Linked DNA regions of Homo sapiens: all the other regions are linked to region 1. The links are contacts of gene promoters, found by promoter capture Hi-C in human tissues and cell types (Jung and others, 2019). All regions are on one chromosome and are shown on one strand. The core of a region is centred on a gene start or on the middle of the fragment in contact, and the rest is flanking DNA. Distances in the headings are between cores, read along the strand shown.

Region 1 (4,709 bases), core at 595-3,094:
AAGTCAATCTTTTCCCCCCAGTCAAGCCACCTATTTCCATTGTATGCCTATTGTAGCAGCCCAGATAGTGACCCAAGCTCCAGTCCACTCCCTTACTCCCTTCCCCCGACTCACTCACTTGGAAATACCTTGAGAGTCAGAGTACAATCAGCTGGTGAGCTCTGCCTCTGGGCAGGACACCTTTACCCACTGAATTACATGTGAAAGACCACGCAGCTCCCTCAAACCACTTCCTGCTTCAAGTACAGAAAAAAGTAACAACTTATTAAGAGCTCCACTTCTGAAGTGTTCAGCATACACAGCATGAAAAGTGCATTTGGAAACAATTTTCTTAACTTGTAATTAATGCAGAGATAACGCTCCACAGCCTCTTTTATGATCCCCTAAGTAAGGAGACAAAAACTCCAGCTGCTAGATCACATAGTATGTATGCACAGTGACGTCATTTCTTTGAAAGCAAGGTGGCCTGCATGTGTTGGCATCTCAGGAACAGCAGAATCAGGTGCCTGACAAGGGTGTATCTTTAACTCCTGGAGCCACTTACTTGACTAGGGAAAGTCGTAGTGGTGAAGTGTTTGAAAGCAGCAACTGAATGCTGCACTAAGTGGCAGAGACGTCTTATGAATTGAGCCCTCAGGCAATTGAATCGGTGGAGCCAGTGACAGCAGCTTAAAAGCGCTTGCAAATTGAAAAAAAAACACAAGTCTTGAAGGATATAATTTTGCTGAGAATGGAAACTAGAACTACGGCCAGCAATCGGAAACGAGAAGTCGGTGCACTGACAGCAGCAGCCAGATTTACCTAAAGGGACTTCACGACACTGAATATAAAATCAGAGTTTTATAACACAGAACCCCAAGTCCAAACTTTGCCCATGAAAGTCCTCTTCTAAACAGAAAAGTTGGGCAAGCAGCTCTTAGAAAGTTTCTGCTTTCCATATACAGTATGTATTTGTTTAAATTATACAAATATGCAAGGTCAGCAAGAGTTGTCAAGGAGTTCTTTTTTGGAAGAACAAATTACACTTTACTCTAACTTTAACACTCTCTCTGGGCATAAGTGCAGAGTTCCGGGACCTTAGCTCCAAAGATCATATTTAAAAGCTTTAATATCATCTAAAATACAACCCTTCATATATAGCATGCCTTGTAAATAAAGTCCTGATGAGTTACACACACAGAGACACATACACACAGAGACACATACACACATGCAAAAGAACATGGTCTTAAAAATAAAACATCTGCACCTGCAAAAGAAAAAAAAAATCCCCAAGTTCATATCCATGCTCTATAGCCCTTAGCCATAGAGAGGATTTAAAGGAATCTTCTGTAATGACACCACGGAAGCCCTGCAGAAGTGGAGGATTTAGCATAAGTACCTTGCAATAGTTTCTACTCATACAGATATCTGTGCAAATGCATCCATCTCCCCGAGCTATTTTTCAGATTCCACAGAATTGCATATTCAGCAATTTATAAATAACTCTCGGTTCCGAAACAATGAAAATTTTAAAGTGAAGAACAGTTCTAGGCAGAAGCAAACAGTACACAATTTAAATAGAATTCCCCAATGACTTCAAAGAGTAAGAAATATTTACCTTCAAGAAATCACAAAAGCAGCACTTAAATAATTGGGTTGGAAGACTGCTGATTTTTCCCATTGCTTCTGAAGTACAAAGTCTGAAAATGAATTGGTTAGCAGGAATAATGAAGCAAAAAGAAATCCAGAGAGATGGGAGATGTTGAGAGCAATGTCACATTTCAATTTTGAGGACTTTATTCCATTGCGCAGGCTCTATCTGCTCTGAATTTAGCAGTGACAGTGAGATTTAGCAAACAGAAGAGGGATTTAGAGAAAATCCTCACATTTATCTACAAAACACAGACACTGTAGACAGGAAACAGCTGGGGGAACATTTGCCTTCTCTCTCTCTCCCTCTTCTGGCAAAGTTATTGAGTAAGGACTTTTTTGGGCATGGTGACAAATAACATCATACCTTTGCATTTTAAAACTAGAGCACAGAAGCATTTTTTTCCCTTAAAAGAATGTGTGTTAGTGACAGGGTTCGCAGACATTAAAATACTTATGCTGCCATAGAAAATAAGGATCTGTTTTCTGATTAACTTTCTGCTGGGCATGAAGACACAAACGTCTGCTAATACACCTTACCAGTATTAAAGGAATATGGGGGATGGGAGAGCAATTTTAGATTCTAGAGCAAATGCATTATTTAAAACAAAAAAAGAAAGAAAGGACGATAAGACCCTCTCCAGCAAACTCTACAATTTTAACCCTGAAGTGACTGGGGTAAAGTAGATTGGAAGACAGCACTCGGGTGACCCCTTGTCCCAGTTGCCAAGTGAGAGGTGTGATCTCATTTCCTAGAACCTATGGAGGGGCAGGCAGCATTGGATTGGTCCCTTTAGGGCACTGTCTCATACTTTTTCTCCTGCGATGAGGCAAAGACTATGCCGAGCTGTAAAACCCAACTGAAATAGAACATTTTTCTTTATTCTTCTACTAGGCTGCCTGTCACTGTCCCCTCCCCACCCCACCACTCTGGGAGAAGGGTACCTGGGGGGCAAACAATTTTCCTGTTGTTTGAATTTTCCATATAACTCAAACCTGTGTGTGTGTGTGTGTGTGTGTGTGTGTGTGTGTGTGTGTATGACAGAGGGAGTCTGTGTGCCAGAGTGTGTTTTCTTTCTCTGATTTTTGTGTATTCTAAATAACACCAGCTGGCTAGCAATACCCTCTCGAGGGTTATGATGTCATTCAAATCCCTCAACTGGGTGACTGGCCGGCAACATGGTCCAAGCCAGCTGTTTTGCTATTTATAATGTACACTTGCCTTTGCCATTGAGAATTCAGTTCTGATCTTTTGTCGATACAGTTTGTACCTATTTCCCTTTGGTTTTGTGAAGCAGTAGATAAGAAAGTGAATTATAAAATAAGGTTGCAAAAGCCCAGAGCAGACATACCTCTTTCCCTAGAGAGCTCTCCAGGCCTGGTTTCCCAGGAGTGGTGGAAATAACCTGGACCTTGAATTTTTTCTTTTTTTTTTTTTCCACATGACTCTCAGGGGACTGACACATCAACTGAAAACACAGTTCTGCTTGAAATCCTACTCTGGCTCTTTGTGTTATCCTGGGGCCAGAAATTTGTTTGTAGAAGTGGGTGCCCTAACAAAAAACAAACAAACCTGCTTTGTTTGGAAGGGGGTTGGGTTTGTTTGAGTCTTCTGTGTGGTTAATACATTGTAGCAATGTTTACCTTTCAGAAATCAAAGTTAGAAATCTGGAATTATGTTGTGTCAATGGTGCACTATGTTCAGCAACATTTTGTGAGCTCTACTATGTGCCCAACTACAACATCCCTAGGAAAACAAAGAGGAATAAGATATGGTCAAGTCCCTTCAGGGGCTTTCAGCTGAATGTCAGAGACAAAGAGGAAAACTTCACAGTCATATGATGGGCATGTGCTCTTTTAAAAACATGAACAGTGCACAATGAGAGGGAGTGACACATTCTCTGGGAAGACAGGGGAGTAAAATCTTTTGGAAAATCCAAAATGAGGGAGGCAGATTGTGTCATGAGAGGCTTTGGGGTACCATGTTGGGAAATTTCAGTGGGTGGGATTTGACCCAAAGAGCACACTAAGAGGTATCATCAAGAGGTGGCCTAGTAGGTGGCCCTGGATTATTCTTAATGCAGGGATTATCCACATGTGCAGATGTGTGAGTAATCCCTGCATTTAATAATAATCCGTGGCTTCCTTTAATAAGCTCTCTTTGTACACTTGATTTGTGACAAATCTTTTTCTTTTCTGCAGTTTTTGTGGATCACACCCTTTCTGAAAAATGTCTATTCTCTTACAGACTTTGAGGATGTAGATTGTATAAAACAATAGAGCTGATCTCACCTGTCTTCCAGATGAGAAAAAACCTCTTTAACCAAGTTTGGAGAGTCAGATACTGGCTGGAGTCTTGGTGCTAAGTTCTTGTTCCAACATTGGACACCATTACAGGTGAAGGCCAGGACTTTGTTTAACCCCTTCCCACTGCAGTTTTAGCATACTTTAATTGTTCCAAGATGTCCTAGAAGCTAACTATATGTCTCCAAGTCTATCACCCATTTTGATGTTCTCTCTTGGCATGCTCGGTGCACAGATATAACCTTATCCACAAGCATTTCATATGAAAGGCTGTTTTGGGGACAGATGCTGTACTCCAGCGATATTGACACACTGACTCACAGTCTCTCGGTTTTGTAACCCCAATTACCCTTAAAGGATAATTAGGTTTTAATTTATGTCCTAGTTTTTATGTCACAATCAAAGAAAACTGAAATTTCAGTGAGTCGTAATTGTCATCAGCTGTGCTTTGGAAACATTCCAATGAGAGCTATCAGTTTCCAATGGGGGAAGCAATTTCCTGAGGTGATTAATGTATATTTCAATTTGGAGAATGGTCTATATTTTTGGACAGGGTGAGCCAGCAATGGATCAGGGCAATAATTCCTAGAGAAAAGGTCATTTTCTTGGCTAATTCCAGGAGTCAATATGAAAATGAAAGAGCAATAAACATGCCACCAGATTACTTTTTAATGGCTAAGTGATGTACCTGTTTAGGAGTAAAAGAAATGAATGCACCTATTACTACAAATCCAAGGTAGTAGTAAATCTAAAGCCCAAGAGGAGTTCAGGTT
Region 2 (4,709 bases), core at 775-3,274, 270 kb before region 1:
CTTAACATCTTTTTGCCACAAATCAAGATATAAGTAACATTAAGAGTTATGTAAGGCCAGGCGTGGTGGCTCACACCTGTAATCCCAGCACTTTGGGAGGCTGAAGAGGATGGATCATCTGAGGTCAGGAGTTAAAGACCAACCTGGCCAATATGGTGAAACCCCGTCTCTACTAAAAGTAAAAAAAACAAAATTAGCCGGCTGTGGTGGCATGTGCCTGTAGTCCCAGCTACTCGGGAGGCTGAGGCACAAGAATCTCTTGAATGCGGACAGTGGAGGTTGCAGTGAGCTGAGAATGCACCACTGCACTCTAGCCTGGGCGACAGAGCAAGATTCCATCTCAATTAAAAAAAAAAAAAGTTATGTGAACATGCTTGAAATGATGTTCATGGCTAAATTTTTCAGTTACCTTGTAAAGATGATTCTTGGATATTGTTTTGATTCTGAGTACTTTTGGAGTCATCTGATAGTATGCTTCGAGAATAACAATCTGATGATAGCTTTCAACATTGGGTTACCAACAAAGCTTGTTATTTTGTATACATTGATTCATAATTTCAGGTTTCTTCACCATTATGGTAAGTAGTGTATTGAGTCTTCATTCTAACACATGTTAGGAATTTATGTTTGTACTCATGGATGTCTTTAACCCTCAGACATTTCTACTTATATTGAGAACTCTAGACTGAAAACATTTTGAAATGTAGTGGTTTTACTATGTAGGAGGAACATGTGATTCATTTGTTCTGCTTCATTTTCTTCTGTTTGTGATAGAGATTGGATCAGATGAAAGTGTCTTGATAATGATATACATGCCATTCTTTTCATTCTATGTATTTGTAGTCCTTTTTTGCCATCATAACTTTGTTTATGATATTCCCTGCTCTTAAAATACCCTCATCTTGTCCCTCCACCTATCTATATCTAAAATATCCTTCAAGACCTTCCTTTTGCAGCTTTCTCTGAGTACTACAGCCAAATCCTCTTGTCTGAACTCCAACATGTGTAATACATTATCATCCTGTTTAAATATAATTATTTCTTATATTTATTAATTTATCAAGGCCCTAAATATCTGCATAAGCTTGCCTTCATGGTTTCACTTTTTCATTGTTCTCTATATTCATGCCATGTAACTTTGGCATGCCTTCCCACTGTGGGTGGGGTAACCTGCCCACTGTTTGACTCTGGTTTCAGGCATGTGATTTGCTTTAACTAATGAGATATTATCAGATATCATGCAAGCAGAGGCTTGAAATGGTCTTGCACATTGGGAATTCCCTCTTGAGCCTCTGCCACCACCATGAAAACATTCCCATGCTAGCCTGCTGGAGAGAGCCACATGGAGGAGAGCCATGCTACCCTAACTGCCATAGCTGAGGCTATCCTCGATCAGCACACATCCATTCAAGCACCAGACACTGGAGAAAGTCCACTTGAGGTCAGTAGAGCTGCCTAGCAGATGCCCAACTGACCCAAAAAGCATAAGACATAAACATTTATTGTTGTATACCCTCTGAAGTTTTGCATGTGTTACACCATATTACTATAGTAATAGATAATTGATACAAATGTCCTACATGGCCTGGACCATGCATTCCTTGCTAAATTTATTTCTTGCTACTCTGTCCCTCTTTCGTCACTCTCTAGTGATATTGGCCTTCTGTTTTTATGATATGCCAAGATCATTTCTGACGCAAGACTTTTTCCCTGCTATTCTCTTTGTCAGGAGCATCTTTCTCCTGTTATTTATCTGAGCATTTATCACTCATTATTGTGATGCTCAGCTCAAATATCATGGTTTCTGAGAGTGCTTCCTTGACCCTATGAGCTAAAGGAGCCCCCTTCCCACTCATTCTTTCCCTATTCCTTTCACTCCTTTATTTTCTTCACTGTGCTTCTGTCTAAAATTATCTTACTTGTTTACATGCTTATTGTCCATTTCCTCTAATGCCAGTGAGGGAGATGGTATCAAGAACAGAGTATCAAGAACAGAGTCTGGCACATAGTAGCCTTTCAATAAACATGTAATAAATGTATGAATTATTTTTTCATTAAGAGAACAGATGGTAGAAACTATGATAGGTTCTAGAATATGATAGAGTATTTACTTATTACCTAGGTCTGCTGTGACAAATTACCACAAACTTGATGGCTTAAGGCAACAAAAGCCCAAAATCAATGCGTGGACAGGACTGTGTTTCCTCCAGAGACTCTAGGGGAGAGCCCTTCCTTGCCTCTTCCAGCTTCTGGTGACTGTTGGCATTCACTGCCTTGTGGTAGCATCCTCTGCTCTGTCTTCAATGACCTTCTCCTCTTTGTGTCTGTTCCTAATATTCCTCTGCCTCTCTCTTATAAGGATTCATGTGATGGCATTTAGGGCCCACCAGGATTATCTCCTCATCTCAAGATTCTTAGTCACATCTGCCAAGACTCTTTTAGGGGTAACATTCAAAATGAATAAAGAAAACTACAGGACAATATGCCTGATGAACACAGATGCAAACCTCCTCAACGTAATACTAGCAAACCAAATACAGCAGCACATAAAAAATTGCTTCACCATGATCAAGTAAGTTTCATTTCTGAGATGCAGGTTGGCTCAACATATGAAAATCAATAAATATGATTCACCACATATGCAGAATTAAGAAGAAAAACCATATGATCATCTCAGTAGACACAGGAAAAGCTTTCAGTAAAATCCAACATCCCTTCATGATAAAAACCCTCAAAAAACTAGGCATTGAAGATACATACCTCAAAAAATAAGCGCCATCTCTGACAAACCTACAGACAACATCATACTGAATGGACAATAACTGGAATCATTCCCCTTGAGATTGGAATAAGACAAGGATGCCCACTCTCACCACTCCTGTTCAAAATAGTACTGGAAGTCCTTGCCAGAGCAATCAGGCAAGAGAAAGAAATAAAAGGCATGCGAATAGGAGAAAAAGTCGAACTATCTTCACTGATGATATAACTCGATACTTAGGAAACTAAAGACTCTGCCAAAAGGCTCCTGAAACTCATAAGCGCTTCAGTAAAGTATGAGGATACAAAATTAACATACAGAAGTTTGTAGCATTTCTATACACCAATAACATTCAAGCTGAAAGCTAAATCAAGAATGCAATTCCATTTACAATACACATGGACACACACACACGCCTAGGATACAAATAACCAAAGAGGTAAAAGATCTCCCCAAGGAGAACTACAAAACACTGCTGAAAGAAATCCCAGATGGAAACAAACAAATAGAAAACTATTCTACGCTCACAGATTGGAAGAATCAATATCATTAAAATAGTCATACTGTCCAAAGCGATCTACAAGTCCAATGCTATTCCTATCAAGCTATCAATATCATTTTTCACAAAACTGGAAAAGACTATTCTAAAATTTATATGGAACAACAACAACAGAAAGCCCAAATAGCCAAAGCAATCCTAAACAAAAAAACAAAGCTGGAAGCATCAAATTACCTGACTTCAAACTATACTATAAGGCTACAGTAAACAAAACAGCATGGCACTGGTGCAAAAACAGAAACACATAGACCAGTGGAACAGAACAGAGAACCCAGAAATAAAGCTGCACACCTACAGCCACCTGACCTTCATCAAAGTTGACAAAAATAGTCAATGGGGAAATGACTCCCTATTCTATAAATGGTTCTGGGATAGCTGGCTAGTCACATTGCAAAAGAATGAAACCAGACCTCTATATTTCACCATATACAAAAATTAACCCAAGAGGGATTAAAGTGTAAGACCACAAATTATAAGAATTCTAGAAGAAAACCTAGGAAACATCTTTCTGGAGATTGGTCATAGGAGAGAACGTATTACTAAGTCCTCAAAAGCAATTGCAACAAAACCAAAAATTGATAAGTGGGACCTGCATAAACTAAAGAGCTTCTGCACAGCAAAATAAACTATCAACAGAATAAAAAGACAACCTACAGAATGAGAGAAAATATTCACAAACTATGCATCCAACAAAGGTCTAACATCTAGAATATATAAGAAACAAACAGTTGAACAAGCAAAAAACAAATAGCCCCATTAAAAAATGGAGAAAATACATGAAGAGACACTTCTCAAAAGAAGACATACAAGCAGCCAACAAACATTTAAAAATGTTCAGCATCACTAGAGAAATGCAAATCAAAACCACAATGAGATGCCTTCTTATACCAGTTAAAATGGGTATTATTAAAAAGTCAAAAATCAACAGATGCCGGCAAGGCTGTAGAGAAAAGGGAATGCTTATACACCGTTGGTGGGAATGTAAATTAGTTTAGCCCCTGTGGAAAGCAGTTTGCAGATTTCTCAAAGAACTTGAAACAGAACTACCATTTGACCTAGCAATCCTATTACTGGTATGCATCCAAAAGAAAGTAAGTTGCTCTACTAAAAAGACATATGTACTCATATGTTCATCACAATGCTATTCATAATAGTAAAGACATGGAGTCATCTAGGTGCCCATCAAAAGCAGATTAGAAAAAGAGAATGGGGTATTATACACCATGGAATACTATGCACCCATAGAAAAAAAATTATGTCCTTTTTAGCAACATGGAAACAGCTGGAAGCCATTATCCTAAGCAAATTAACACAGGAACAAAACAAAATACCACATGTTCTCACTTATAAGTGGGAGTAAAACAGGTACTTGTGGACATAAAGGTGCTAACA
Region 3 (4,709 bases), core at 707-3,206, 270 kb after region 1:
TCTTTATTCTTCACAATAAGACTGTGAGTAGAATAACAACCTGACCTGACCAGTGGGGAACCTGAATCTTAGAGAAATTAGATAATTTGCCTAAGGTAACCCAGTTAGCCAGTGGTAGGTTTTAATCCAGATTATTTGAGAGCAAGCTTGTACTTGTCAGACACCAGGGGAAGGTCTCAGGGTAGAGGGAAATCAACTATTTATTTGGATTCAACCAATTTAAATGCTGTTTAAGGCTAAGGGCTCCTGTTTCCTTTTGCAAAAACGGGTGTTCTTTCTTCTACAAAGTGTAGTCCATGGCCAGCAACCTTCACATCAGAGAGCTTATTGGAAATGCAGAGTCTTGGACTTTAACTCAACCCTAATGAATCAGAATCTGCTTTTTAACAAGATCCCCACATGATTTGTATGTACATTAAAGGTTGAGAAGCACTGGTCTACACCACAACACACACACACACACATACACACACACACACACACACACACACACACACACACACACAATAGCAGCAGCAAGTTCTGAGGGAAGAAGTAAGTACAGAGATAAAAATTTGGAGTGCAGTCTGTGCTCAAAGAAGGAAGGCCTGTTCTGTAGCCACTGCATTGCTGAGAACTAAGAAGTGAGTAGGTAATGGACACAGTGTGGAGTACTGGATCTTTTACTGGTGACAGCAGCATTTCTACCTTAGCACAATAAACACTTTGGTTCAACCAAAGGGGTTGTTTCTCAAGCATGCATTTGGGGCTTAAGCTTCCATTGGGGTGGACAGCTTGCCGTGGTTTACCCAGGACTTTCCTGTAAGTCCTGCATCCTGAGAAAATCTTCTATTCTGAAAAAACCATGACGGTTGGTTATCCTAGCATCTATCTCTTTTCCTAAAGGGGCAAATAATAAAATTACCTTAGACTTAGATTCTGGAGATCTGAGTTCAGCTTCCAGGATCATCACCTATTATTGCTATTATCATACATGAGCCACTTAAACTTCTCTTTTTCTTATCTGCATAATGAAGCTAATACCAAGCTCCTTTGGTAGCTGAAGAATAAATTAAAAGCTATAGATGTTAAGATCATCAAGACAGGGATGATTTATATTCTATCTTCGTAGCCCTGAATGAAAGTTTGTGAATGCACTTTGTGAACTATGACATAATCTTGTATCCAAGATGTTGCCAGTGTTATAAGAATGTATCTCTCTTGAATACCTCTCTGTCAAATTCTATACAGTCTGTACTGCTCTGATGAATCCTAGTCTCCTCAGAGAAGTCTCCTAACTCACTCCAGCTATAGTGGCTTCTCTCACTTTTGAAGAATCACTTGAAGAAAATTGTTCAGCATTACAAGTTTGTGTTTTGGCCAGGCACGGTGGCTCATGCCTATGATCCCAGCACTTTGGGAGGCTGAGGCAGGAGGATCACTTAAGCCCAGGAGTTTGAGACCAGCCTGGGCAACATAGTGAGATCTCACCTCTATAAAAAAATACAAAAATTAGCCCAGCATGGTGGCATGTGCCTGTAGTCCCAGCTACTCAAAGGCTGAGTTAGGAGAATCACCTGAGCCCAGGAAGTTGAGGCTGCAGTGAGCATGATGGCACCACTGCACTCCAGCCTGGGCATCAGAGTGAGAACTTGTCCACAAAAAAAAAAAAAAAAAAAAAAAAAAAAAAAAGGTCTGTGTTCTGGAGACTTGGCTTCACCACTTAATATTCAAGTGACTTTGGACAAGTTACTTAACCTTGTGAAGTTCAATTGTTTCAGTGGTAAAATGGGAGCAATCATAATAGTACCTGTCTAATTTATAGTTGGGTGTATGGAATAAGATAGTTAAATCTATGCGTACCATAAACTAAAGGCTTAGATATGTTAGTTGCTCTGCTCTGAAATATATTTAATGCTTACTTTCTTAGAATCCTAATTCTTATAGGACCTGCAACTTGGGGATGGAGTCTCTTGTAATAATAATCTTTTTTCAACTTTTTATGTGTTTACTTTGTTCCTAGATTGTAAACACTTTCAGGTTAATAATAATGATATTATCGGCCATGCAGTGGTTCATGCCTGTAATCCCAGCACTTTGGGAGGGTGAGACAGGTGGATTGCTTGAGGTCAGGAGTTCAAGACCAGCCTGGCCAACATGGCAAAACCCTGTCTTTCCTAAAAATAAAAATAAAAAAAATTAGCTGGGTGTGGTGGCCGGTGCCTGTAATCCCAGCTACTCCGGAGGCTGAGGCAGGAGAGTCACTTGAACCTGGGAGCTGTAGTGAGCTGAGATCATGCCGCTGTACTCCAGCCTGGGTGACATAGCAAGACTCCGTCTCAAAATAAAATAATAGTAATAATAACAATAATATCTAGACCACCTCCTCTGAGACCAGCAGCTGTAATAGCATTTTGAGCACTTGTCGTGTGCCAGGCACTATGTAAAGCAAATTGCCATCAGTGAGTGAGCACCTATTGTGAAGCAGGTACTTTACTTAGGTTACCTCATTAACTTTTAAGACATCCCCATGTGGTAGAAATTATTAGCCCCATTTTGCCGATGACTTTTGATGATATGGAAATTAAGTAACTTTCCTGTCAGCCACACAGCTGGGACTCAAACTAAAGACCATTTTATTCCGAAGCTCATGCCAGCCACACAACTGAGATTCAAACTAATGACTGTCTGATTCCAAAGCTCATGCCATTTCTATGTTGCTCAGGGATCCCCAGACCATCTAGTAGTTCTCTGCAAACACATAATAAAGTAGTGCTTCTCAAATGTTAATATAGATATTAATCACCTGGAGATCTTGATGAACTTCAGATGCTGGTTCAGTAAATCTGGAATGGACCCGAGGTTCTGCCTTTTTAGCAAGTTTCCAGGTGGTACTGATGCTGCGGTCCAGGGACCACACTTTGAGTAGCAAGGCTGCATTATTTACTTTCCAATGGGTTGGTTCATAGGTGAAGTCTCTAGGATCTGCATCTTCTGCAGTTCTTGGGGCTAGGTCTAGGGAAGGTGTGAGAGTGGCAGGAGGAGGATATTTGGTGGAACTGAGTAAGTAACCAGTCATATTAAGAACCCAGTTCTTAACTGGGGTGGTCATAATTTGGGACTACTTTTATCTATTTCTCTTAAATTCTGTGGCATTGGATATTCATCAGATATCCCCAATGATCACAATCACCTGGCGTATTTGTAAACCAAAACACTTCCAAGGACTCTCTCCCGGGATGGGGCCTAGTAATTTGTAATTTTACAAGTACTTCAGAAAAGTCTGAAAAACACTGAAAGTGCTATAGAAATTGCAAAGAGCAGGCAATAAATGAGGGGTGATGTAATCAAAGAAGGCTTGGCTGGTAGGGGTCGGGAGGTTGCAGGGGGCCTGGTTAGGGGATGGAGCTCAGCCCTGCAGAATGAGAGAGTTCTAAAAGGGCAAAAGACGGTGGGAAGAGTGCTGGGTGGTGGTGGGGCACATAAACAAGGGTATGAAGATTGGTTCTGCATTTTTTCAGATTCAGTTTAAGGCCTACTGGATTTTGTTTGAAATGCTGTATAAACATCGTGTACATGGGTACATTAAAAATATTATAATAAAAGATTTTAAAAATATTGGTTATATACTCGAGTGACACCAAAGTCACATGCAACCAGAAGTTTGCATAGTATAATAAACCTTAAAAATTGCTGTGTTTCCAACTGCTGGATGAAAACATACATCGGAATGGCTAAAGTTAAAAAGCCCAATGATACAAGAGCTGGTGAAAACGCAAAACCCAATAGGAATTCTCACTCATTGGTATAAATTGGTACAACCACTTTGGACAATTCTTTTATGGTGCCTATCCACGCTGAAATATGCCTTTCCTATGACCCAAGAATTTTACTTCTAGATATAAATCAAACAGAAATTCCTACATTTCTAAGAACACCTAAAGTCTGAACAAGAATTTCATGGCAGCATTATGTATAATGGCCCCAAGCTGAAAATAAATTAGATTTTCTTCAATAGTAGAATAAAAATATAATATTTCATCATAAGAATATAGCACATTCTTATGATAAAATATTATATTGTAGTAAAATTGATTATTGCAAAAAGTAGATACAGAAAGTATATTCAATAGGTTTCATTTTATATGAAGTTGAAAAACAGATAAAACCAAACTATGGTGTTAGAAACCAAGATATGGCTATCTTTGGGGAATTGGAGGGGGCAAAAACCTAGGAGTGGCATGGTAGGGGGGCTTATGGAGTACTGATAATATTCTATTTCTTAACCTGGGTGGTGGTTATATGAATATGTTCATTTTAAGATAATTTATTCATCCGTACACTTAACAAATGTGTTTTTTCTATTAAAATATCCTATTTCAAGAAAACACATGGGCAGGCACACATGTATGCACATGCAGGCATACACACACACACACACACACACACACACACACACACAAACACATGGCATTTTAAAAAGAAGGGAGAAGACCCCACTCACAGGAATTTCTATGCTAGGTTTGCACTGGCTCTATTTCTCAAAACTCATCTCTGGGACAAAACATTCAACTGACATTTGAGGATTTCTTTTCTCCCCCAATCATGTGGTATAATGTTTGGCAAATGGAAATGACACTGGTTCTTCCCAAACCATGTATTTCTGTAAGAAACAGCCCATGGGCCACATTCATCTTCCCCTTGGAGAGGTATTTAAGCATCACTCAACC

What was found. The method cuts DNA at HindIII sites, captures the fragments that hold promoters and counts their contacts. A contact is called where the count stands out against the background at its distance.
Region 2: a contact is called between a fragment that was not itself captured here and the fragment with the promoter of IGF1 in region 1, in 1 of the 25 tissues and cell types used here (adrenal gland).
Region 3: a fragment that was not itself captured here is called in contact with the fragment with the promoter of IGF1 in region 1 in 1 of the 25 tissues and cell types used here (H1 embryonic stem cells).

Annotation. Positions count from the first base shown.
Region 1 is chr12:102,478,719-102,483,427 of GRCh38, forward strand. IGF1 (insulin like growth factor 1) reads right to left here and starts at 1,845. Exons shown (of 4, transcript NM_000618.5): 1 at 1,601-1,845. The coding sequence starts at 1,663. LINC02456 (long intergenic non-protein coding RNA 2456) reads left to right here. Exons shown (of 13, transcript XR_007063427.1): 11 at 1-4,709. RefSeq lists enhancers at 301-560, 651-700. The HindIII fragment of the contact is 12,796 bases long and covers 1-4,709 here.
Region 2 is chr12:102,205,596-102,210,304 of GRCh38, forward strand. LOC124902998 (a long non-coding RNA gene) reads left to right here. Exons shown (of 2, transcript XR_007063426.1): 2 at 1-4,709. Among named protein-coding and RNA genes, the nearest start is that of PMCH, 10 kb to the left of the region's middle. The HindIII fragment of the contact is 3,824 bases long and covers 113-3,936 here.
Region 3 is chr12:102,749,177-102,753,885 of GRCh38, forward strand. No RefSeq gene overlaps it. Among named protein-coding and RNA genes, the nearest start is that of LINC00485, 73 kb to the right of the region's middle. The HindIII fragment of the contact is 3,013 bases long and covers 451-3,463 here.